Regions from separate parts of the Homo sapiens genome. Here region 2 is linked to region 1. The links are contacts of gene promoters, found by promoter capture Hi-C in human tissues and cell types (Jung and others, 2019). All regions are on one chromosome and are shown on one strand. The core of a region is centred on a gene start or on the middle of the fragment in contact, and the rest is flanking DNA. Distances in the headings are between cores, read along the strand shown. Region 1 holds the start of MDM1 (Mdm1 nuclear protein). Region 2 has its middle 21 kb from the start of RAP1B.

Region 1 (6,517 bases), core at 2,489-4,988:
TCACTGTTTCAACTGCTACTGAGAAAATGATAGGAGATTATTAATTTGTGAAGTGGTCAACTTCCTTTTTTAATAGAATGAGTAGTAGATGAGAATATTTTATATTTCAAGTGCAAATAAAATTTGCCTCAAAGGATTTTGATATGTTTTTGTCTCTAAAAGGAGCAACAGCCTTATCGTGAGGTATATGTCAAGATAAATCTAGAAAGGGCCAATGGAGTTATTTTATTTAAGGAAAATAGCCTCAGTGGTAACTATCAATAACTTAAAGTTTCCATATCTTACCAGTAAACTGAATAAAATGCTCTTTTCTTTATAGCTGCCGCTAATGGAGTTGGACTCATGAGTGAGGGAGAAAGTGCCTGTGAATGACATCATTATGCGACATCATAGGACAGTTTTTTTTTTCTTTTATTCACTCGTCTTTCTTTTATTTCAACTGATGGTATACCATAAACAGTCTTCTAAGCCTTGCTTCTTTTCTTTGAGAGTCTTCTATGTTAGCTCATAAAGAGGTGCTTCTTGCTTGTTAGGGGTTGTATGGAAGTGTGCAAGTTAATAAGCTGTTGCATGTCAGTTCCAGTCTCACCCTTCAGACTGTGCAAATCACATGGCCAGCTCCCTGTTATGTTTGCCAAGAAAGGAAGCTAGGGAAAGACTGGGATGCTCTGTTTTGTTTGCTGTTCCTCCCCGCAGCACCTGAACAGTGATCTTCTACCCCACAGTGGCAGTTCATTGCAGTCTCCAGCTTGTCTCTTTTCCAGACGTTCCCAGAGAGTCTCATTTTGTCCCCTCAGAGGCACCCCACCAGTGGGGCAGTGGCCCTTTCTCAGCGGTCTGACCAACTCCAGGAGGCCTCTCCTACAAACCTCCGCATTCTAGTAACCTCAACATTTTCCTTTTGTTCTCTCAGCCTTACAGTATGAGCTGCTTCCTGGAGTTCCTCTTCTTTATCCTTTTGGCTTTAAGTTCTTCAATAGCTAATGAACCAATAGCTTATATTAAGTTCTCTTTGTTGAAATGCCTTGTGTAGGGTCTGTTTTCCTAGCTGGACCTAACATATCCATGCAGGATCAGAAGGCCCAAAGGAGCAGAACAACCTGCGCTACTCTTTGAATTTGGATGAACCGTAATGTATTTGACTAGTTCTCTCTAAATGGACATTTAGGTAGTTTTCAACCTTTTGTAACTAGAAACAGTACATTAAACAACTTTAAATGAATATTTTTTTTCACATATGTGTGAGTCTATCTGTAAGATAAATTTATAGAAGAGGAACTCCTGGATCAAATTGCCAAAATGCCCTTCATATAGGTTGTGCAAATTCAGTCTCTCACGAGCAATAGACAGAAATCTATTCCTATGAGAAATAGAGAAATCAACAAAGGGAAGAGTGAGCCAGGTGTGATACCACTGTCCCAGTAAGAGGGCCTTAGCTAGTGGAAGAGAGAAGCATAGCATGAGATCTGTCACTTGAGGAATTACTTTTTGGCTTAGACTCCACGGACTTCATTTTGAGCCCTTTGGCGATGAGAAAGGCTAAAACACAAATGAAAAGAAGGCTCTCTAAGACATAGTGTTACTCACTTCAAAGAGGGTAACGCAAAAAGGAGAGGTGCTTTGCCATAGATTACCACCAATGCCAGGCAGTTTGAGGAGTGGCTGTACCCAGTTGCTGTGCCCAGTGAAGACTCAGTACCAAGCTAAAGTGGCTGTGATAGCCAGCAGCAAGAGTGACACCTACAGATGCATGGCTATTGGAACAAGGGGCAGTGCTGCCCGGCATACGCTATGTGGTTGCTGCGAGCACATGTGAAATACCTCCTAGGGACTCCCCAAAACATGGGTGGAGCTTTGTAGGGTACTGGGTACTGTTTCCTGCAGTAGCAGAGAAGATAAGAGCTGGTAAAACACAGGCTACAAAACTCATTTACTAAGGTAGTCACTTTTTTTTTTCCCATTCCTATATCTTTGCCTCTTAAACTTGGGTAGGCTTTTGTTTAACAATAGCAAAGTAAAATCTTCTTCCTTAAGTCTTTATGATACTTCTCTAGCAAGCCTGGGATGTGACTGAGTTATTTTTACAATCTGCTGTTTGGTTTTCCTGTCATTTACTCCCTGCTCAGCAGAGCTCTTCTGCAGTGATCATTGCGCTTGTTTAGCAGGCAGGCTACATTCTACACACTTGCTTTTGCTGATCTCACCTTAGCATTTTGTGGTAACAAAGCTGTGTGCACAACCAAAGTTGTGCCTTTCTTACTCTGTAAGATGGGCTGCCTTCCTGCAGATGACTTTTGTTCTATGTTCCACTGTGTCTTGTTTGTGCCATTCTTAATTTACACGACAGAGATGCTGTCATCACCAATTAACATTAATCAAGGGCCCCCTGGATGCATGGCTGCATTGGGACTAATTTAATATGCTCTTTGTTCCAGATATCAGGTGGCTTCTTCAAATGATTTTTAAGTATCTCGATGATGATGAAGAACAAAGACATCAATCAGGATTCAGGAAGACAGCTTTTGCGGAAAATGCTTAAAGGGAAGCATCAAGGATTGGTGTTGATATTTGAAAGTTTAAGAGTGGTATACTTTTATTCAGTCAACACATGACAAATGTAAAAGGCACTCATTTGTTGTTCCTGGAAGAAGCCTGGCAGCATTCCATTCAGACATCTGCCCTTTCATCGTCCCACTTTTTACTTATTGCAGTCCTTTCAGTCTGAATATTTCCTCCTGACGCATCTTCTGCCGTCCGAAATGACTCCCTGCTCCCAGATCCTGTAGCCCTTATTATTGACACCTTTCATTTAGAAATTTAGCACATGTCACATTACACCATTATTGAATAAATAATGAATAAATAAATAAATAAAGATGTATGTCCTTCCCAAGTATATCAGAGAACTATCTGGACAATTTCTTTCTTTCCCAATTCTCAGAATCAGCAGTATTCTGTCAAGAAACATTTATCGACGATGATGGCAATAGTCGATTAAAATCAGATGAAGTTTTATTTTTAAAAAAAGGTTGAGCGGAGAGACAAGGCTGAAGGTTTGGAAGTTGAGACAACCATCTTCAATAAACGTTTTCTCATCTAAGGGCTGTATGTACATCATTTTGGGGAAGGTAGAGATTGAAGGAGGAAGAACATCACTGGAGGAAGAGACAGCAGTTTGTCTTTCGAGTTTCAATAAAGTTTCAAAAATCTTGCCTAAGTTATATATTTTTTTGGCCTTTCCCTTTTGATGTGACAATAAACTGTAATGCGGCTGTCGTTTGTACGAACCGATATTCAGCAGAATAAATCTGAGCACTTTCAGAAAAAGAAGCGTTCGGTTTTCTCATAGATGTTAGCATGAAGAACACACTTTGACCTTTGATGCTGTCAAGCACCTGGGCCAGCGAGGCTGGCGGCTGGCGAATTCCACCAGCAAGCAGACGCATTGCTGCGCAGGACCCGGCGAACCAGGGACCGGTCCACCCAACCCAGGAAGGCACCCCCGGGGTCCCGCCCAGCCCGGTTCCGGGAGCCTTATTGGCCGGCCTTCCGCCCGCCATCTCTATCAGCCCCAGGGATTTGGCAAGGGAGGTAGGCGGCTCCCTTTCGGCCACTCATTGGTCAAATCCTAATGGAGGTAAGGCACTCTGCGAGTCTCTATTGGTCCCTAGGCTCCAAAAAGGGCGGGGAAAAACAGACCGACAGGCCTCTAGGCGGGAAGCGCGGAGTGCGCCGGCGCGTAGTCGGGGACGCCGGGCCGAGGCTTTGCTAGGGAACACTGTTATCGCCCCGCCCCCTCGGAGCTTTTTCTCCAGTTAACTGTCGGAGTAGCGGGGGCTCCGGCGCCGGGCGACATGCCGGTGCGCTTCAAGGTGAGGCTGGGGTCCCCGGGCCGGAATGTGGCTGGGGGGAGCCATGGCCGGGGAGGTGTGGAGCGCCGAGGTCACGCTGCTTTTCTGCGCTGCAGCCCTCTGCCCGGCGGAAGCTGCCAGCCCCAGGGCCTGCTCGAGGGGCCCCAGAATCTGCCCGCCGCCTCTTAACCTAGTTCCCTCTCCGCTCACTCACATTTGCAAGCTGCAGTGTGTCGAAGAGTCAGATGGTGCGAGACACATTTACTTAGGGGGACTCAAGAGGAGTGGAGATGGGAGGAGGTCCCTTTGCGAAGAGAACTAAAGGCGACTTCAGATTGGGACACCTGTGGCCCATTTAGCTTAGCATTTAACCCCCATTACCTTTAAAACTTTAGTGTATGTGGCTTTTAAAGGCTTGAGAAATGGGTTCTTAGTAAAGACAGCGTATAAAGAAATACACGTTTTTCATCGTTGTGCATTCTTAGCGTATGTTAAAAGTTCCAGGTAGCTGGTAGCTGTCAGGGACTAGCACCCTGCAACTTCACAGGTGGCCACAGCGTCCCACATCTCCTGACTCATTTATCTTAAAGGCGTGTATTCAGAATGGAAGGGGAGTTTGCCTTTTGTTGACTTTATCAAATAGCAAAAGGTCCTAGGCATGGTACATAATATTGTGTACTCGGTGAAAACCTGCGATAAATCTAGAATGATGAGAATTTAGATTGTCATTAGTTATCCGACAAGAACTCATGCTTTGGAATCAGATAATCAGTGAAAGGGTAACCTCTGAGCCTGGAATTCCTGGTAGCATCTGCCTCAAGTGGTGTTGTGGATTAAAGGATATAACACGTGTGAACTGCTTAGCACAGGGCTGGGTGAATATTAGCTCTTATTAAGGAGCTCGTCTGTGTTTAATTTTCAGTCTTAAGTCTCTTTTGGGAGGTTCAGAAATTATTTTTCACCGATGTCTGCTTTAAAACATCATTCATTAATTGGACTGTACTCAAAAGTGTACTTTGCATTACAGGGGCTGAGTGAATACCAGAGGAACTTCCTGTGGAAAAAGTCTTATTTGTCCGAGTCTTGTAATTCCTCCGTGGGGCGAAAGTACCCATGGGCTGGACTTAGATCAGATCAATTAGGTAAGTTGAGCAGGCTAATAGCCATTCTAACCTGGGCTAAGTTTATAACTTGGGCCAAGCCGTTATAACTTGGGCTAAGTAAACCTTGGGCTAAGTTTACCAAATGATATATTAAAAGTTCAGTTGGCCTGGTTGATTTATTCATTTATTAATCAAGTATTTATTGAAGGTTTACTATGAGCCAGGACTATTCCCAGCAGCTAGTGTGGCAGGCCAGGTTTCACTAATGGAGGCCTCCATCACAACTGTTTCGGTACTGACTGAGCGGTTAAGTTAAATATTGAAAGCTAAAAAAAGCCAGTGCCCTTACACAAAGGCTGGGATGTCACAAAAGCCCATCAAGAGTATTGCCTAGGCCTTTCCTGGGCCATAAAGCATGACAAAATAAGGAATTCTTAACAGGATCCGTTTAGGATTAAACAAGTTTTACTGGGGGTCTGAAGAAACTCCCCAGGCCTCCACAAATTTATTGGCGGTCTGAAGGAACTCCTCAAACCTCCATGATTCAGCAGGAGACAAGATAAGGGTAATCAGCCCAGCACCTAGACCCATTTAGATTAAGTAAATTTACTGATGCTCCAGAAGAAGGTCTTCAGGACTCAGACCTTAGTTATAGATTAAAAGAAGTTAATCACTTATATCCTTAGATGAATGCACACTTACACGTAGACATATAGCTTAGAAGGTATATAAGCTCTGAAAAACTTTGTAATTTGGGGTTCGTCTGGTGATAATTTGCAGGCCTTCTTCCCGTAACTGGTTATAGAAATAAAAACTCTCTTTCTCCCTAGTTTATCTGCATCTCGTTATTGGCCGAGAGAAATAGCAGCCTGACCCTCAGTTTGGTCTGGGAACACTAGGGATATAGCCCTGAACCAAAGTCCCTTAACTGTGGAGAGAAACAGTAAGCAAGTCACTCAATAATTAAGGGAATTTCAGGTTTTTATATAAAATTGTAGGGAAGTGTGATACATAACATGCGGGAGGAGTGGATTGGAGGGAAAATGCTTTAGATTAGATGGTTGGGAAAGGCTCTTTTTGAGGAGGTGATATTTGAGCTGAGACCTGAAAGCTGAGGGGACAATGCTGGGGAAGAGTGCTCCCAAGGTCTTGAGAAATGGAAGCTTAGGGAGATGAGGTCGCTGCCCCAGCTTTACAGCTAGTAAGTGGCAGAACCATGATTTGAAATCAAGTCTGTTTTGTGCAAAGCATGTAATTTCAGAGGTCATGTTCTTGTTATCACACATGCCTCCTCCCTGTGTCCCAGGGAAGGCAGAGTCCTGGGCCAGAGTTTCCCGGAGGGTGATAGAACAGAAGGGAGACAGACTGACCTCATTATACCTGCTTATTTAATTCTTCCTTACTAGTATATTAGATCTCTGAGAGTAGGGCTCTGTCTTATTCACCACCCAGTACCTAACACAGGCCTTGGAACATTCTATTGCTTCTTGAAACTATTTTTTGAATGAATGAATTAGCCTAAATTTGAATTATAATAGCTGTGTGATGTTGGGCAAATTGAGC
Region 2 (6,476 bases), core at 2,182-4,681, 260 kb before region 1:
CACACAGGTGAACTTCAAAAACAGTATGAGAAACAAAAGGAGACAGACACAAAAGACTATATCTTGCATGATTCTATTTATGTGAAATTTCTAGAAAATTTAAATCCACAGAGACAAAAAGCAGAATAGTAATTCCCTGGGGCTTAGGATGAGACTGGGAATTGACTGCAAATGTGTGCAAGAGAAATTTTGGGGGTAATAGAAATGTTTGAAAATTGGATTGTAGTGGTGGTTGCACAACTGCATAAACTTACTAAAATCACTGAGGTGTACACTTAACAGGTGAATTTTATGGTATGTAAATTATACCTCAAGAAAGCTGCTTCTGTCCTATATTTCAGTCTGACATACCAGTAAAAACTATAGCTAAAAACACTTATGAAAGAACTCTTTTAGTTCAACACTATTTGCTGAAACTTTGTTTTTGCTTCAAAATGTTTTATACCCAGTTCCACCCCATCTCCCATCTCACTTATCCATCCTAGAGTACTAACTTTATCAGGGTTGCTAAATCATGTATAGACAATGGAGTCTAACGTGATTTCATAATGAGACTTTAGGTTCCAGTGTTTACTGATATTTAAAAAAAATGCATCTGGAAAAGCCACAGGCACCCAGTGCCAACCTATGAGAGCAGCTGCGGGGGCTGAACCCTGTGGTTCAACCCCTCATCTCTACCCTGAGACTTTAGGTTGAGATTCTTTATGAACTGTGTTTGTATAGGTCTAGCTATTCCCTTTCTATTTGATACTGGGCAGATCCAAATTTTACTGAAATGTGAGAAACCATTCTCCAAGGAAAATTCACCAGTGCTGATTTCTAGAGCTGCCAGCTAATACCCAGGAATTTATTTTCTCTGTCTTCAAAGTGCCATACTACCCTAACCCTGACAGGAAGAAAACAACTTTCAGGTTGAGCGCCACATCAAAAAGGCTTCTCCTGTTACTAAAAAAAAAAATTTCATTCACTTGATAGTTACTTCCTGTGTCAAACTATCAGATGTTCCCCTTGAATGCAGCCATCTGGAGGTTTGTTGTTTGTTTTACGCCAACATGTTAACATAAGGCACGTGGAGGGAACAACATCCATTTGTTTACGTATCTAGCTATCCAGCTATGCATCTATCATCTACACATTCAACAATGGTTTCTTGAGTACCTGCTATGTACTATGAGACTTCGAAGCCTCAACTCTTGCATTCGTGCAATACACATACATGACCAAATCTCATGTCAAATTGTAATCCCAACTCTTGCATTCTTGCATATACTATACATATCCAAATTAAGGATGCAACAGTGAGTAAGAATGACATGGTTTCCACTCTCACAGAAATTAGTCTTTTTTTTAGATAATACAGGTCAGTAGTGAAGACACATTTTTCTACTTTCCAAGTTTTCTTGTGCTGGCCTTGGCTCCTCTAGTGGCTATACGGGTGACATCTCAGGTGACATGGTGATTAGTTTGCTCTCACATTGCTATAAAGGAAATACCTGAGACTGGGGAATCCATAAAGAAAAGAGGTTTAATTGGCTCATGGTTCCACAGGCTGTACAGGAAGCATGGCAGCATCTGCTTCTGGGGAAGCCTCAAGAAACTTACAATCATGGCAGAAGGCAAAGTGGGAGCAGGCATCTTACATGATAAGAGCAGCAACAAGAGAGAGAGAGAGAGAAAGAGAGGAGGTGCCCCAAACTTGTAAACAGCCAGATCTCATGAGAACTCTATCATGAGAACAGCACCAAAAGTATGGTGCTAAACCATTCAGGAAGGACCATCTCCATGGTCCAGCCACCTCCCACCAGGCTCCACCTCCAACACTGGGGATTACAATTTGACATGAGACTTGCCTGTGGATATGGATGCAGAGTCAAACCATATCATTCCACCCCTGGCCATTCCCAAATCTCATGTCCTTCTCATATTGCAAAATATAATCATGCCTTCCCAACAGTCCCCTAATTTTAACTCATTTCAGCATTAACTCAAAAGTCCAAAGTTTCATCTGAGACAAGGCAAGTCCCTTCTGCCTATGAAACTGTAAAATAAAAAACAAGTTAGTTACCTTCAAGATACAATGCAGATATAGGTATTGGGTAAATACTCCCATTCCAAAAGGGATAAATCAGTCAAAAGAAAGGGGCTACAGGCACCAGGCAAGCCCAAAACGCAACAGGGCAGTCATTAAATCTTAAAGCTCCAAAATAATCTCTTTTGACTCCATGTCTCACATGAAGAGCACAGTGGTACAAGGGGTGGGCTGCTAAAGCCTTGACAGCTATGCCCAAGGCTTTGTGCCCTACTCCTCAGTACCACTTTTCTATATTAGTCCATTTTCACGTTTTTATAAAGTAATACCTGAGCCAGTGGCTCATGCCTGTGATGCCAGTACTTTGAGAGGCCGAGGTGGGTGGATCACCCAAGGTCAGGACTTCGAGACCAGCCTGGCCAACATGGTGAAGACCCGTCTCTACTTAAAATAGAAAGTTCAGCCCCCATGGCTGCACTCACGAGTTGGCATTGGGTGCCTTGTTTTTCCAGGTGCACAGTGCAAGCTGCTGGTGGATCCACCATTCTGTGGTCTGGAGGATGGCAGTCCACTTCTCACAGCTCCGTGAGGCAGTGCCCCAATGGGAACTCTGTGTGTGAGGTCCAACACCACATTTTCCCTCCACACTTCCCTAGCAGAGGTTCTCTATGAGGGGTCCACCCCTGCAGCAAGCTTCTGCCTGGACATGCAGGCTTTTCCATACATCCTCTGGAATCTAGGCAGAGGCTCCCAAGCCTCAACTCTTGCATTCTGTATACCTGCAGGCTTAACACCATGTGGAATCCACCAAGACTTACGGCTTGCACCCTCTGAAGCAGCAGTGTGAGCTTAACCTGGTTCCCTGTTAGCCACTGTGGGAGCCGGAGCAGCCAGGATGCAGGAAGCAGTGTCCCGAGGCTGTGAGGCTGCTCAGGGCAGCAGGGCACTGGACCTGGCCCATGGAAACCATTCTTCCTTCCTAGGCCTCTGGGACTGTGATGGGAGGGGCTACAGTGAAGGTCTCTCTCGCTCTGTTACCCAGGCTGGAGTGCAGTGGCACAATCCCAGCTCACTGCAACCTCCGTCTCCCAGGTTCAAGCAATTCTCTTGCCTCAGCCTCCTAAGTAGCTTGGGACTACAGGCATGTGCCACCACACCCAGCTAATTTTTTGTATTTTTAGTAGAGACGGGGTTTCACCATGCTGGCCAGACCGGTCTCAAACTCCTGACCATGTGATCTGCCCACCTCAGCCTCCCAAAGTGCTGGGATTACAGGTGTGAGTCACTGTGCCCGGCCTTGGCTTCTTTTTACTTATGTAAATTTCTGCAGCTGGCTTGAATTCTTCCCCTGAAAATGGGCTTTTCTTTTCTACCACATGGCTCAGAGGCAAATTTTTCAAACTTTTATGCTCTGCCTTGCTTTGAAATGTAACTTTGAGTTTATGTCATTTCTTTGCTTATGCACATGAGCATAGGTTGTTAGAAGCAGCCAGGCCATATCTTGAACACTTTGCTTCTTAGGAATTTCTTCTGTCTGATACTCTAAGTCATCACTCTCAAGTTCAATGTTCCACAGATCCCTAGACGGGGGCACAATCCAACCAAGCTCTTTGCCACGGTGTAACAAAAGTGACCTTTGCCCCAGTTCCCAATAAGTTCCTCATCTCCATCTGAGAACTCATGAACTCATCAGCTTGGCCATCTCTGTTCATATCACCATCAGCATTTTGGTCACAATCATTCAACAAGTCTCTAGTAAGTTCCAAACTTTCCCTCACCTCCCTGTCTTCTTCTGAGCCCTCCACACTCTTCCAACCTCTTCCCATTACCCAGTCCCAAAGCCATTTCCACATTTTTAGTTATCTTTATAGCAATGCCCTACTCCTCAGTACCACTTTTCTGTATTAGTCCATTCTCACATTGCTATAAGGAAATCCTTGAGCTGGGCCAGGCATGGTGGCTCACGCCTGTAATCCCAGCACTTTGGGAGGCTGAGGCGGGTGGATCATGAGGTCAAGAGATCGAGACCATCCTGGTCAACATGGTGAAACCCCATCTTTACTAAAAATACAAAAATTAGCTGGACATGGTGGCATGCACCTGTAGTCCTAACTACCTGGGAGGCTGAGGCAGGAGAATCACTTGAACCCGGGAGGTGGAGGCTCCAGTGAGTTGAGATGGCACCACTGCACTCCAGCCTGGTAACAAAGTGAGGCTTTAAAAAAAAAATACTTGAGCTGGGCACAGTGGCTCATGCCTGTAATCCCAGCACTTTGAGAGGCTAAGGTGGGTGGATCACCTGAGGTCAAGAGTTCAAGACCAGCCTGGCCAACATGGCAAAACCCCGTCTCTACTAAAAATACAAAAATTAGCTGGGCATGATGGTGCATGCCTGTAATCCTAGCTACTTGGGAGGTTGAGGTAGGAGAATCACTTGAACCTGGGAGGCAGATGTTGGAGTGAGCCATGATCACACCATTGCACTCCAGCCTGGATGACAAGAGTGAAACTATGCCTAAAAAAAAAAGAAAAAAAAAAAAAGCCGGGTGTGGTGGCTCACGCCTGTAATCCCAGCACTTTGGGAGGCCAAGGTGGGTGGATCACCTGAGGTCAGGACTTCAAGACTAGCCTGGCCAACATGGTAAAACCCCATCTCTACTAAAAATACAAAAATTAGCTGGGTGTGGTGGCAGGCACCTGTAATCCTAGCTACTTGGGAGACTGAGGCAGGAGAATCACTTGAACCTGGGAGGGGTAGGTTGCAGTGAGCTGAGATTGCGCCACTGCATTCCAGCCTGGGGGACAAGAGTGAGACTCCGTCTCAAAAAAAAAAAAAAAAAAGAAAAAAAAAAGAAATACCTGAGACTGGTTAATTTGTAATGAAAAGAGGTTTAATTGGCTCATGGTCCCACAGGCTATACAGGAAGCAATGAAGCATCTCCTTCTGGGGAGGCCTCAAGAAACTTACAATCATGGTGCCAGAGGGCAAAGTGGGAGCAGGCATCTTACATGGCAGGTGCAGGACCAAGAGCGAGAGAGGGGAGGTGCCACACACTTTTAAACAGCCAGATCTCACGAGAACTCTATCATGAGAACAGCACCAAAGGGATGGTGCTAACCATTCAAGAAGGACCATCTCAGTGATCCAATCACCTCCCACCAGGCTCCATCTCCAACACTGGGGATTAAAATTTGACATGAAATGTGGGCAGGGACACAGATCCAAACTATAGCACATGGTGACTGTGGTAGCTCTGACAGTGGAGGCAGGGAGCTCCCCTGTGCTGGTAATGTGGTTTTAATACACTGACAGTGGTTACTTAGTCAAGCTCTAGAGAACAGTCTTGGAAGCAGCTTCCTCTTTAACGACAAGGACAAAATTCTCAGCAGTGGCCACAAGAACATTGGCAATAGTAGCTGTTCTGCCATTTTCAGTGGTCTCTCCAGCACCACTGCAAACTAAATAGAAAACAAATGCAAATTTTATGTCTTTTTATGAAAATGTAGCTCCTGGTCTTGCTTGGAAACACATCAGTTCTGTAAAATAGAGCACTTTTTTATACCCTAATTTTCTCAAGAAATGATGTCATTTGTTTCTCAAATATTTAATATTTCTGTAACTACATGGTAAATCAAGATTGCTTTTCAATTCTTTGTGGTTTTTTTTTTGTTTGTTTGTTTTTTTTTTTTTTTTTTTTTTTTTTTTTTGAGACGGAGTCTCACTGTTTCCCAGGCTGGAGTGCAGTGGTGTGATCTCGGCTCACTGCAAGCTCCGCCTTCTGGTTCACGCCATTCTCCTGCCTCATCCTCCCGAGTAGCTGGGACTACAGGCGCCCCCCACCACGCCCAGCTAATTTTTTGTATTTTTTAGTAGAGACGGGGTTTCACCGTGTTAGCCAGGATGGTCTCAATCTCCTGACCTTGTGATCCACCCGCCTCCGCCTCCCAAAGTGCTGGGATTACAGGCATGAGCCACTGCACCCAGCTGCTTTTCAATTCTTCTGGTATTTTCAGCTTGGTGGTATGTAGTAGCTAGGTGATGACATTAGATAACATTGTTTTTAGAAAGGGAAATTTAAAATAATGTGTCTAGTTGGGACTCTACAGAGAAAAGAAGACAGTAAGTAATTAGCCAATTTATAACTAGGAACAAAAGATATAGCTCCAACCTTTACTTTTGAACAAAACAATGAAATAATATAAAAATAGAACAGTACTTTTTAGGTAATATAAGTGAGTTGAAACCTCGGCCAGGCATGGTGGCTCACTCCTGTAATCCCAGCACTTTGGGAGGCCGAGGTGGGTGGATCACCTGAGGTCAGGAGTTCGAGACCAGCCTGACCAACATGATGCAACCCCATCTCTACTGAAAATAAAAAAAAATTAGCTTGGCGTGGTGGTGCATGCCTGTAATCCCAGCTACTCAGGAGGCTGAGGCAGGAGAATC

Evidence for each region. The method cuts DNA at HindIII sites, captures the fragments that hold promoters and counts their contacts. A contact is called where the count stands out against the background at its distance.
Region 2: a fragment that was not itself captured here is called in contact with the fragment with the promoter of MDM1 in region 1 in 2 of the 25 tissues and cell types used here (lymphoblastoid cells and stomach).

Annotation. Positions count from the first base shown.
Region 1 is chr12:68,329,583-68,336,099 of GRCh38, reverse strand. It overlaps MDM1 (Mdm1 nuclear protein), which reads left to right and starts at 3,738. Exons shown (of 15, transcript NM_001354969.2): 1 at 3,738-3,872; 2 at 4,879-4,993. The coding sequence starts at 3,855. It overlaps LOC105369819 (a long non-coding RNA gene), which reads right to left and starts at 3,469. Exons shown (of 3, transcript XR_945057.3): 1 at 286-3,469. RefSeq lists a silencer at 3,538-3,797 and an enhancer at 4,098-4,187. The HindIII fragment of the contact is 12,003 bases long and covers 1-6,517 here.
Region 2 is chr12:68,586,422-68,592,897 of GRCh38, reverse strand. No RefSeq gene overlaps it. Among named protein-coding and RNA genes, the nearest start is that of RAP1B, 21 kb to the left of the region's middle. RefSeq lists enhancers at 620-829, 4,991-5,040. The HindIII fragment of the contact is 7,878 bases long and covers 1-6,476 here.